2 separate regions of the Homo sapiens genome follow, and region 1 is linked to region 2. Evidence: promoter capture Hi-C in human tissues and cell types (Jung and others, 2019). All regions are on one chromosome and are shown on one strand. The core of a region is centred on a gene start or on the middle of the fragment in contact, and the rest is flanking DNA. Distances in the headings are between cores, read along the strand shown. Region 1 has its middle 33 kb from the start of TRA-AGC15-1. Region 2 holds the start of KCNK13 (potassium two pore domain channel subfamily K member 13).

Region 1 (5,560 bases), core at 1,195-3,694, 1.1 Mb after region 2:
GTCGAAGTCAATACTTCAACTGCTTGTACTATAAATGTTTGTGCTTTTTTGTCTTTTTGTGGAGGAGTTGCTGAACACATAGAGTTGAATTTCCTGAAGTTATGTATGATGCAACTCTTCCTTTCTATCCAGAGTTGAGAAGGGGATGGGAAAACACTCATGCCTAGTGCTGATAGGTGCTGTGTGCAGGACCATTTGACAAATCTTATCACAACCTTTAAAAGCATGCAGACCACTGGTCTCTGTATCTCGACCGCTACACATTTATTCATTCCAAGAAATACTCAATTTTGTTCCAAATATTACAACATCAAGAAGTTAGTAACAAGAACATTCGGCGGAGCATTGTTCACAACAGAAAAATATAATAGGAAACTACCAAACTCTCCATCACAGGGCTGAATGAATCCTGGGAAGGTGAAAGCTCTCTCAACCTACCTAACTGAACCAGACTCCTCTTCCTCTGTAAAACCTGGTGACTGAGGCCATGGCCCTGCCGGTGTGCCTGTGCATATAAGGGTACTCAATACTCCAGCTCCCGACTGCTGAGGTGTGAGTTTAGTGAGTCTGTTGGCTTTGCCTCCAAAGTAGTTTATGGCAGCTGTATGCATTAATTTTATCTCATAATATAACTAAATATTATGCAAACTGATGAAGTGTGCATGCAGAGAGAATATGTGTTTCTATGAAAACTGTGTTAAATGCCTAGGAAAGACTTCATAAATGGAAAGTTGCCAAAGAATTGCTGCAGAATGAGATGTGGGTGAAACAGCTATAAATGAGTGGGGAAAATTATGAGGATTTTACACCAGAATTGCTTGGCTGTATCTTTAAGTACTCACTCCACATTAAAGACACAGAAACTGGAGATGTAGATGGTGCCATCATGGGTGTGGTTTAGGTGAGACAAAGAGCTAGCACTCCAGCTAGCAAGTCCTGTGCTCTGTGCAAAAGACTGGTGAGTGAATATGCATTTTTTTATGCTTTCATTGGAACTAAAATGCCTAAGGTACATATGTGAAATTGTCCAGGATTCCAAAATCTTATCAGCTTTTTCTATTAATTAAGCAGCTGCTGAGACATTGGACAAAAGGAAGACTACTGCATATTCATAGAAAGAAATGTTCTTCATTCAAAACAAAAAGCTAGAAGAGTATATTTTGACAGACCTTCACAATATATTGTCAAATGAAAAAAATCGGGTTAAAAATAGGCACAGTGGAATCTCATTCATGTAAAAACTGTGTGTGTTAAAAATAAATACTTTTTTTTTTGAGACAGAGTCTCATTCTGTTGCCCAGGCTGGAGTGCAGTGGCAGGATCTCCCCTCACTCTAACCCCCGCCTCCCCGGTTCAAGCGATTCTCCTGCCTCAGCCTCCCAAGTAGCTGGGATTACAGGTGCCCCCCACCATGGCTGGCTAATTTTTGTGTTTTTAGTACAGACAAGGTCTCTCCATGTTGACCAGGCTGGTCTGGAACTCCTGACCTCAAATGATCCACCTGCCTCAGCCTTCCAAAGTGCTGGGATTACAGGCATGAGCCACCGCACCTGGCCAAAAATAAATACACTTTTTAAAATGTCTGAGTGGTGAGAATATGAGTGACTTTTGTTTCCTTTTTCATGCTTTTGATATCTTCTTATATGTCTACAATAAATACTTTGTAGAAAAAATAAAATTACAAGAAAGTAGATTTTTGGATAGAAAATATATATACATTTGTACCTAGGGAGCCCAGAGAGGAGGACAGAATGCTTCTGGTTGGGGCTAGGATTTCCCAAGAGAAGCCTGGGAAGACTGAGCCCTGGCCCAGTGGCATGCTCCCCACCCTCTGGGCACCTGCAAGGTGTTCAGTAAGGGGGTGCCGATAGGCCTGTTTTCCATCACCTTGGGCTCGCAGATCTAGGGCTGACTGGGCCGAACTGGAAGTGATCACTCATGGTGTCTCATGCAGTGACAGTCAGGTGGTGATGGGGCTGAGGTCATTCAAGGGCTTCTTCACTGGCTCTCTGGCACCTGGGCTGGAACCTGGAACTGCTGGGGCTCCGTTGGGCATCTCCTCCTCCTCCTCCTTTCCCTCTCTCTCTTTCCTCCTCTCCCTCTCTCTCTTTCCTCCTCCTCTTCTTCTCCTTCTTTTTCTCTTCCTCCTCCCTATCCTCCTTCTTACCTCCTCCTTGTTCTTCTCTCTTTCTCTTTCCTCCTTTTCCCCTTTCTCTTCCTCCTCTTCCTCCTTCTCCTCTTCATCCTCTCTTTCCTTCTTCTCTCTCTTCCCTCTCCAACATCTTCTCTTTCTTCTTCTTCCCTCCCTTCCTCCTTCTATATAGGGCAGCTAGACTTGTGTGTGTGTGTGTGTGTATACATATATATATATGTATATACACACATACAATATATATATATATTTTAATATATATATAGTGTGTGTGTGTATATATATGTATATATATATATGTATTTAAAACCCTGCATTTTTATTTAAGCCTAGACCGCTCCAGCTTCTGTCTGAGGTGCCTTCTCCAAATGCACAGTTCCACTGGGGAAGTAAGTACCACTGACTGACTGGGTGGTGTAAACAATAGGAATTTATTGTCTTACAGTTCTGGAAGCTAGATCAAAGTGTCAACAGGATTGGTTCGTCCTGGAGGCTCTGAGGGAGACTCTGTTCCAGGCCTCTCCTCCACCCTCTGATCATTCGCTGGAAATCTCTGTTGTTCCTGGGCTTGTGGCAGCAGAATTCCAATCTTCACACCGTGTCCTCCCTGTGTCTGGGTGTCTGTGTCCACATTTCCTCTTTTTTCTCAGGACGCCTGTCATACTGGATTAAGGGCCCACCCTACCCCAGTCTGGCCTCATCTTAACTAATTATGTGTATAACAACCCTATTTCCAAATGAGCTCACATTCTGAGGCGCTGGGGGTTAGGATTTCAACATATGAACTTTTGAGGGACATGGTGGAATCCATAACAGCCAGAGACTCCTCTCCTGCCAAGCACATCATAAGGACCTACTGCATTCAACCCACTCTGCCTGTGGCACTGTGCCTCTGTGCCTGTCTAGAGGGCCAGTCTGCCCATTTGATTTTATTCAGAAAGGTTTCCTCAATGCCTCCCACACATGTGGAGAACATGGAACAGAACAGAGCAGGAGGCTTCCCTGAAGCCATTCTCGTGAGTGCCATGTTCCTTTTCATCACAAGACTTGGTTCTAGCAGACACCCAAGGGAGGTGAGCTTTTTCCAAAGCTCAGAGAGTTTTCAGGCTGAAACTTCCCACCCTGCAGGGCAAGCTTACTTTCAAACCCCCATTCAGGGAGGCCATTTGTGGGGTCTGTCTGGCTCTGCTGGTTTGAGTTCTGTCTGCCTCTGAGAAGCCCTCCCCAGCATCCTCCAATCTCCCAGGGCCCCTCCAAGGGTGGTTCTGCCTGTGTCTCCTCTCACACCTTCTCATCCCTTGGACTGGTCATGGCTTGTTTGCTTGTCTGCTCCCCACTGGACTGTAGGCTAATGGCGACAGGGACCTGGTCTCAGTCATTGCTGCATCCCCTGTGCCCAGCCCAGAGCTTCACCCCCAACTGGGACAGAAGGCCACAAACTACAGCCCCTGGGCCATATTTCATCCCCCAACCACCTGTTTTTGTCTAGCCTGTGAACTAAGAATGGTTTTTACATTTTTTAATGGTTGGGAGGGAAATCCCCCAAAAGAATGATATTTTGTGACATGTGAAAGTGATATGAAATTCAAAGGTCAGTGTCCACAAATAAAGTTTTACTGGAAAATAGCAATGCTCATTCATTTATATATTGTCTATGGCTTCTTTAGCCCTACAATAGCAGAACTGAGTAGATGCAACAGAGGCCATCTGTCTCCTAAAACAGAAAATATTTATAATCTGTTTCCTTACAGAAAAAGCATGTGCCAACCCCTCTACTAGACACTGGGGAGATGGATGTTGACTGATGATGAAACAATTGGATAAATGGTCCCCAGATCCCAGGCAGCTCAAGCTGCCTTTTGCTATTAGTTATTTTTATATGTGAGATCCTGAAGGCAGGGATTGAGTCTTCTTTTCCTTTTTTGGCTCCACCAAAGGGTCAGAAGGTCTTGGAAAATGTTGATGCTGATTTGCTGCCTTGGACACCAGGAAGCGGTGGTGCACGGAAGGGCTTGAAGACGCGGGTGCTCCTTCATCGCTGGTCGGTAGAGTCCTTCACCCTTGGTCTGGAGGTCAGGCTGTGGTTGCTGCGGTGCATTCTCTCAGCTGGGAGACCATCCCTGCATGCGCTGTGAGAGGAGACATGAGGCCTGCAGACCTGCTAGAAGCTGGGGGGAACACCGCCGGGTCCACTGTCGGACAAAGTATTTGACTTTCAAGTGAAAACCAAACCTAGGGCACAAAGGAGAAAGTATAGATGTCAGGTACTGACAGGGCTGTATTTAAACCTCATCTTTGGTTCTTTCTAATTCTGTGACTTTAACACAAGCTGCTGCGCCTTTGTTTTCTCATCTGCAAACTGGGGACAGTAATGGTTGTCGTAGGATCTCAGAAAGACGATGGATGTATAAAAAGATGTTGAGAGACATCTTTCCGTATCTCAGGAATTGGAATCAATACTCAGCCACTCAGTAAATACTGAATACCTGCTATGCACCAGGCACTGGTTCAGGCTTGTGGGATATACCAGTGCTATAGATGGAATGTTTGTGCCCAAGATTCATATGTTGAAACCTAATCCCCAACATGATAGTATTTGGAGATGAGGCTTTTGGGAGGTGATAAGTCATGAGGGTGGAGCCCTCGAATGGGATTATTGCCCTTATAAAAGAATCTCCCGAGAGACCCTCACTCTTTCTACCATGTGAAGACACGAAAAGATGGTTATCTATGGACCAGGAGACAGACCCTCACTAGACACTGAACCTTGCCAGTGCCTTCATCTTGGACTTCCCAGCCTCCAGAACCATGAGCAATAAATGTCTGCTGCTTAAGCAACCCAGCCTATGGTATTCTGTTATAGCAGCCTGCATAGACTAAGACAATCAGTGAACAAAACAAAGAAAGCACCTCCTCTCAAGGGGCTTCTATTTTGGCAGTGGAGACAAAAAATAAACAACAAACATAATGATGTAAATTATATAGTGTGTTAGCAGGTGATAAATGTTATGAAAAAAAGATAAAAGAGTAGGGCAGGGCATAGGCACTTGGGAGTGCCACAGTCAGAGAGCAGTTTGCAATATTAAATAGAGTGATCAGGGCAGACTCATGGAGAAGGGGAGCTCTGAGCAAATGCTTCGGAAATCAAGAATATGTCTGTTGAATAAAGAGTTGTTTGACCCTGGGCAAGTCACATACAGCCACTGAGCCTCAGTTTCCTCAACTGTAGTTAACAAAAGCTGCTTCTCGGGATTGTTGTGAGTTTTACAGGAAATCAGATTTGTAATAGCGTAGAGCTTTGCATCTAGTGGATGCTCAGTACATGCGTATTATGAGGGGAACAATAGTGGTTTTTCTTTTTGGTAAAGAATTGCTCATTAAATTAATTTACATGGTAAATTAGGGGAC
Region 2 (5,707 bases), core at 1,235-3,734:
CCATGCCACATTGTCATATTCGTATCCCCAAAGCCCATGTTCCTATATGGCCACCTACCCATGCCACTCTCAGTTCCTGCTACATGGATGCACCTGTCCACACACACACTCTGCTCCTTCCTGCCTCTGTGCCCACTGGGAGCACCAAGAGATGGTTTTTCATGGTGGTGGGAAAGATTCAGCCATCAAATCTCCCATCAAAACCACCCTAAGTTACCATTCAATCTAAAAAAATCCTGTACTTGCTATGCAAACACAGTAGAGTCAAGGTCACTTCCAAAGTGACACCTCCTAATCAGTTTGTTCATCCCAAGTCTTGCCTATGTGGAGATTCTGGAACTGTCTTCTGGGACGTGGGAGGTGATGTGAGGAGGGGCTTGTGGAACACGGCTAAGAGTCCAGCAGATAGTGTGGGCTCAGGGGGAGAACCATGGGGGTGTTATTCCTCCTTCACCAATCTTGGGCCCATTCTGGTCTGCTGCAAGGTTTCCTGCCTGATACCCAGTTATGGTGGTGCCATCATGGCCTGCTGATGGGCCGCACCATCTGGGATGGGATGGGGGCTGGGAGCCAGGCACTTCAGATACAGCCGGTGTGTCCCTAATCATACTGGTCCTCTGCCTCGCCTCCTGTGCATCAGCTGAAGCCCTGGATTCCTGGACTAGCCCTGGGAAGTCTTTCATGATGAATCTGACCTGAAGCCAATCTCTTTTGTCTTTTGTGCTGCTTCTCCTGGCAGAATGTCTATGTAGCACAGCCATGTGTGGGAGCCTCAAGGAGGCTCAACTTGTCGCCCCACCTCACCAGCGAGCTCTTCTAGAGTGCACAGGGGCAGTAGCTACAGAGCGCTCAGCACATGCACCCTGGGCTGTTTGCAACTGCCAGCCTTTTTTGCAGCTTGGAGGCCACTTCCTCTCCGTCTAACTCTTCCAACCTCCCTCCCCTGCTCCAGGTCTCTTTTTGCCCCCCTCAGAATTTATTTCTACAGCATCTTCCCTAACCCCCATTAATCACTTGATTATTCTTCAAGGATGAACAATCTTTAGGGGTGTGGCGCAGACTCCCCCAAATCATTTTCCTTCTGCTGGGAAATAAACACAGCTGATTGTAGCTGTGCTACATCTTTGCTAAAAAATTCTCAATGGCTCCCAGGTGCCTCTAGGTAAATTCCAGCTCCTCAGTCTGTCAGTGAAGGTCCTACCCCCGCCTCCATCCCATTAGCCAGCAGACCTTCCTAGTCTTCCTTCCACCACTCCAACCAGCTCATGGGGCCCCTGAGTGCGATTCTCTCCTACTCTAGAGTGCAACCGCGCTTTCAGTTCCCAAACCCAAGTTATGCCTAACACGAATTGATTCAGCCCAAAGGTCACTTCCCTGGTTCTTCCTGGTGGAAAATTTTCCATCTTTTGAACCGTCATTGGCACTTTTGCTTCCTCACTTTCAGTCTGCTGTTCTGATTTTTTCTCGGTAAGTGTGAAGTCGAGGGCAGAATCTTTTAAAATCTGCACTTCCCCTCTGACTGACTCAGTAAATGTTTAGTTTCCTGTCCCTATCTGTAAAAGCCTTCTTCCCCATGAACTCAAGCCGTGTCTCCTTCATTAGACTGAAAATCTCCCAGAGCAGAGCGTCTCCAATTTAAGGATCATTCCAATCCTTTGGGGACTTTGTTAACATGCAGATTCTGACTCGGCAGGTCTGCAGAGGGGACTGAGACTGCATTTCTAACAAGCTGCCAGGTGACGCTGAAGCTGCCGGTGCCTGGACCACATTAGAGCAGCGGGGAGGCAATACCACCTGTTGATCAGGCGACAGCTCATGTCAGTGGAGTCTGGCTGGGCGCCCAGATGGATGAATGAAAGGATGAGAGGGTCGGTCCTGCCCCCCGGAGGAAGTGGAGGCCGCCCGGAGGTTGTCAGCGAGTCCGGCCAGCACACTTACCTATGGTGGAAACGACGGTGCCCACGAAGTAGAAGGCGCCGGTGAAGTCCCAGCGCGGGCGGACGTTGTCCACGCGGATGCCGGCCCGAGTGGCCTCCTCGTAGTGGCGGAGGAAGCCGCGCAGCTCGTCGCGGCTCAGGTTGTGGCCGCGGCTGAAGTTGGCCAGGCGCTCCTCCCAGCGCTGCTTGGCCTGGCGCTCGTGCGCCAGCTCCAGCGCGGAGAAGACGGCGGCGCCGCCCAGCAGGTAGAGCACGATGAGCGCGGCCAGCAGCAGAAAGCGCGCGTTGTCCTCGTTCAGGTGGCCCGGGCCCCAGCTGAAACCCCGGCCAGCCATGGCCGGGCCCCCGGGGGCAGCCCCCAGGCCCACGGCACCGGGCGTCGGCGGAGTCTCGCCCACACCCCCGGGAAATAAGGGCCCCGGCGCTCAGCCAGCTCCCGGGCGCCCCACCGCCGGCTCGCCCATGACCGCCGGGCTCTCCCGCAGGCCGCGAGGCTCCCCCGGCCGCCGCCTCGGTAGCTCCTGTGGCGCCAGCTCCCCACGTCCTCCTTGACTCCTAGTTTCAAATCCGCTTTGTCGCCGCCGTTCCCCTCCACTCCCCCTGCTCTCCTCGGAGTTCTCCTTAACGCTGAAGGTCCCGGGGAACGGGCGCAGAGTTCACGTCTGCTTGGCGCTGGGATGCGGGCGCAGTTTCCACCCCGGCTCCCTGTCCGGCTCAGATAGGGGAGGGGGCGTGGCGCGTCTTCAGGGCAAGCTCGAGCCAACTCGAGTTTCCCGCAAAGAGACGGTCGCGGGGCGGGGCGGGGCGGGGCGGGGCGGCGGGGGGGGGGCGCGGTCCGGAGGTCTGCGGGTAAGCAGAGCGCCGGGGTCCTGGGTCCTGGTTCCTTTGACTATCGCTTCGCAGGCCGCCGACGGCTAGGACACGGGTGTCAGTCTGCTGGCTTTGTAGGTGCCTCCCCAGGTAGATCGACGATGGTGCCTCCTAGTTGTGGTCGTGGTGTCGCGCTGAGCCTGTGGCCTCCCGAGTCTCCGAATCGGCTGCCGGGGCTTAGGGATGGAGGGGGTCCAGGGCGGGCGCACGGAGAGAGGGGCTGTGCTGAGCGGCGTCCGAGGGCTGCGGCGTCCGAGGGCTCCGACCTCCGGCCGGGCCCCAACGCTGCGCATCCGTTGGGCGGACGGGCTGGAGAGAGGAGACCAGAAAGGGAGGTTGGAACAGGGAGCAAAGGAAGTTAGGGGCTTCTCCCCCGGGCAGCCTCCCTCGCCTTGACCATGCCAGAGCGCCCTTGGTCTCTGGATCCTGCGCGGGGGCGTCCTCTGCGCCTACTAGTAGGCTCCGCCCGGACCAAGCGCGCACCGCGAGCCAGCCCCGCTTCCGGAGAGGAGGCCAAACACTGGGGGCTGGAAGGGCTCCGCGGCCAGGAGACCTTGACCTTGGAGCGTTCCATCTCTTCCCCCCGGGCTTGGCTGCCTAGTGCGTTCCAGAGTTTTGCCTGGACGCGGGGTCCGCGCAGAAGGCATCCCCCACCTCATGCAGAACAGTAGCAAGGCTCTCCAGCAAACCGCCGGGGCCCCCTCCCCGAGACCCCGCCTTGTAGCGGGCGCTGGCGCCGCTGCCGCGCTCAGATCTCACCTTCCGGGGAGCGCCCTCTCCGCGCCGCTCCGTCGGGACTGTTCCCGGGCCTCCTGGCAGCCGCGGCCCTGCCCTGCCAGCCGGCGCGCGGAGCACAGGTCCGCACCGCGCTCTGCCTTCTCAGGCGGGCGCGCTCCGACGCTGCAACAGGTAGAGCCGTGCGGCTGCCAGCTGCGGCGACTCCACCCTGTCGCCCGCCTCCTTGCGCGCGGGCCCGCCTCCTGCGCTGGTCTCCGCGGGTAGACGCTCGGCGTTCGAAGGGCCGACCCGGGGCTGCGGTGCTCCCACCAGGGCGCGCAGATCTGGGTAGTGGATGCAGAACCGGCTGGTGGGACGCTCAGCCGGTCCGCGTGGGCCCTCCGGGGCCGGGAGAGGGCGCTCTGCCCCCTCCAGACACATCCCGCCCCCGCCCGCGCACACAGCCCCGCGCGGCCCTCCGGAATCACCCGCCCGGGCGTGTGGGAGCGAATCTGTACGCGGAGAGGAATGGATACGTGGGCATCTTCCCACCTTCCGAGAGAGCGGTTTCAGGCGCAGAGCCCCACACACCGCCCTTACGCACCAGGAGCAGAGACAGAAGGGCTAGGAGCCCTGTTGAGTAAAACCGTGTGATTTCGAATAAAGAAACACAGCTCTGGCGAGTGCATTTTCATCAGAAACCCTGGTGCTGTTAGCAGTCCTCTCGGCTCTGTTACTCACTCCCCAATGCCCCTCTTTCATCTAGCCTTCTGAGGGGCAAGAGCTTTAGGGGCATCGCGAGAATGGGTGCATGTGTATACACCCAGGGTGAGTACTGCAATTACCTTTTAAATCCATTTTATTATGAAAAATTTCAAACATTCTAAAAAGTTGAATTTTACAGTGAACACCCGTATACCCACCACCTAGATTCTACAATTAACATGTTACTATACTTGATTTATTAGATATCTACCCGTCCCTCTGTCCATCCATCAACCCATCTTGTTTGGATGCATTTCAGAGTAAGTTGCAGAGCTTGGTACACTTCCGCCCTCATCCCCAGTACTTCTGCCTGCATATCACTACGTAGGGTTCAATATTTACTTGCAGAATTTTTTTCCTTTTCGGATAAAATTTACATACAATGAAATGCACAAATCTTAAGTGTATCATTAGGTGAGTTCTGACAAATGGGTACACCTCTGCAAATCACCTATCCAACCTACCAGCCAAACATCACCAACAGGGTCCCCCTAAGTCCCTTCCCTGTAACTCCCTACCCACATTCCTCCAGAGAAAACCACTGTTCAGAATTTTTCTACCATCGATTACTTTCGCTTTTATAGAACTGTTTTTTTGTTCTAAATCTCCATATAAATGGAATCATGCCGGTATGTACTCTTTGGTGGAAAACATTATGTTTTTGAGATTTACCCATGTTATATGTCTTAGTAATTCCTTCCTCTTTATTGCTAGTTTTTCATTGTTTGGGTATACCATAGTTTGTTTATTCATTCTCCTCCTATTGATAGAAAGGAGAACTGTTAGAAAATTTTGGTCATCATAAATAAAACTGTTAGGAACATTCTTGTACAACTATGTAGACATATGTTTTCATATCTCTTACGTAAAGACCTAGGAGCGGAATTGCTGGGTCATAGGGTAGGTATGTATTTTGCTTTATGAGAAACTGCCCGACATTTTCCCAAAGCAGCTGTACTGACAGTGTACACTAGTTCTGGATGCTCCGTATCTTTGTCAACATTTGGCAGTATCAGTCATTTTAATTTTAAAACTACTGGTGGATGTAGCAATATCTCACTGTGGTTTTAATTTGCATTTCCCTGATGTCTAAAAATACTGGTGGATGTAGCGATATCTCACTGTGGTTTTAATTTGCATTTCCCTGATGTCTAATGCGCTTGCTGGCCACTTGTGTACCTTCTCTTGTGAATTTTCTGTTGAAATATTTTGCCCACTTAAAAAATTAGTTTCTCTGTTACTGAATTATAGAGATCCTTTATATATGCAGGATACGAGTACTTTCTCAGATACATATCTTGCAAATATTTTCTAACTCTGATTTGCCTATTTATTTTCTTAAATATGTTTTCTGTATGTTTGGTGCCCTTTGAGAAATCATTACCTCCTTCAAGGTTGCATAGGTTTTCTGTCTCCCC

Evidence for each region. The method cuts DNA at HindIII sites, captures the fragments that hold promoters and counts their contacts. A contact is called where the count stands out against the background at its distance.
Region 1: a fragment that was not itself captured here is called in contact with the fragment with the promoter of KCNK13 in region 2 in 1 of the 25 tissues and cell types used here (lymphoblastoid cells).

Annotation. Positions count from the first base shown.
Region 1 is chr14:88,942,987-88,948,546 of GRCh38, reverse strand. No RefSeq gene overlaps it. Among named protein-coding and RNA genes, the nearest start is that of TRA-AGC15-1, 33 kb to the left of the region's middle. The HindIII fragment of the contact is 4,880 bases long and covers 5-4,884 here.
Region 2 is chr14:90,058,771-90,064,477 of GRCh38, reverse strand. KCNK13 (potassium two pore domain channel subfamily K member 13) reads right to left here and starts at 2,484. Exons shown (of 2, transcript NM_022054.4): 1 at 1,939-2,484. The coding sequence starts at 2,272. It overlaps LOC124903406, which reads right to left. Exons shown (of 3, transcript XM_047432048.1): 2 at 3,567-4,076; 3 at 2,745-3,116. The coding sequence ends at 2,852. RefSeq lists enhancers at 2,542-3,041, 3,042-3,543 and a silencer at 3,792-4,181. The HindIII fragment of the contact is 23,188 bases long and covers 1-5,707 here.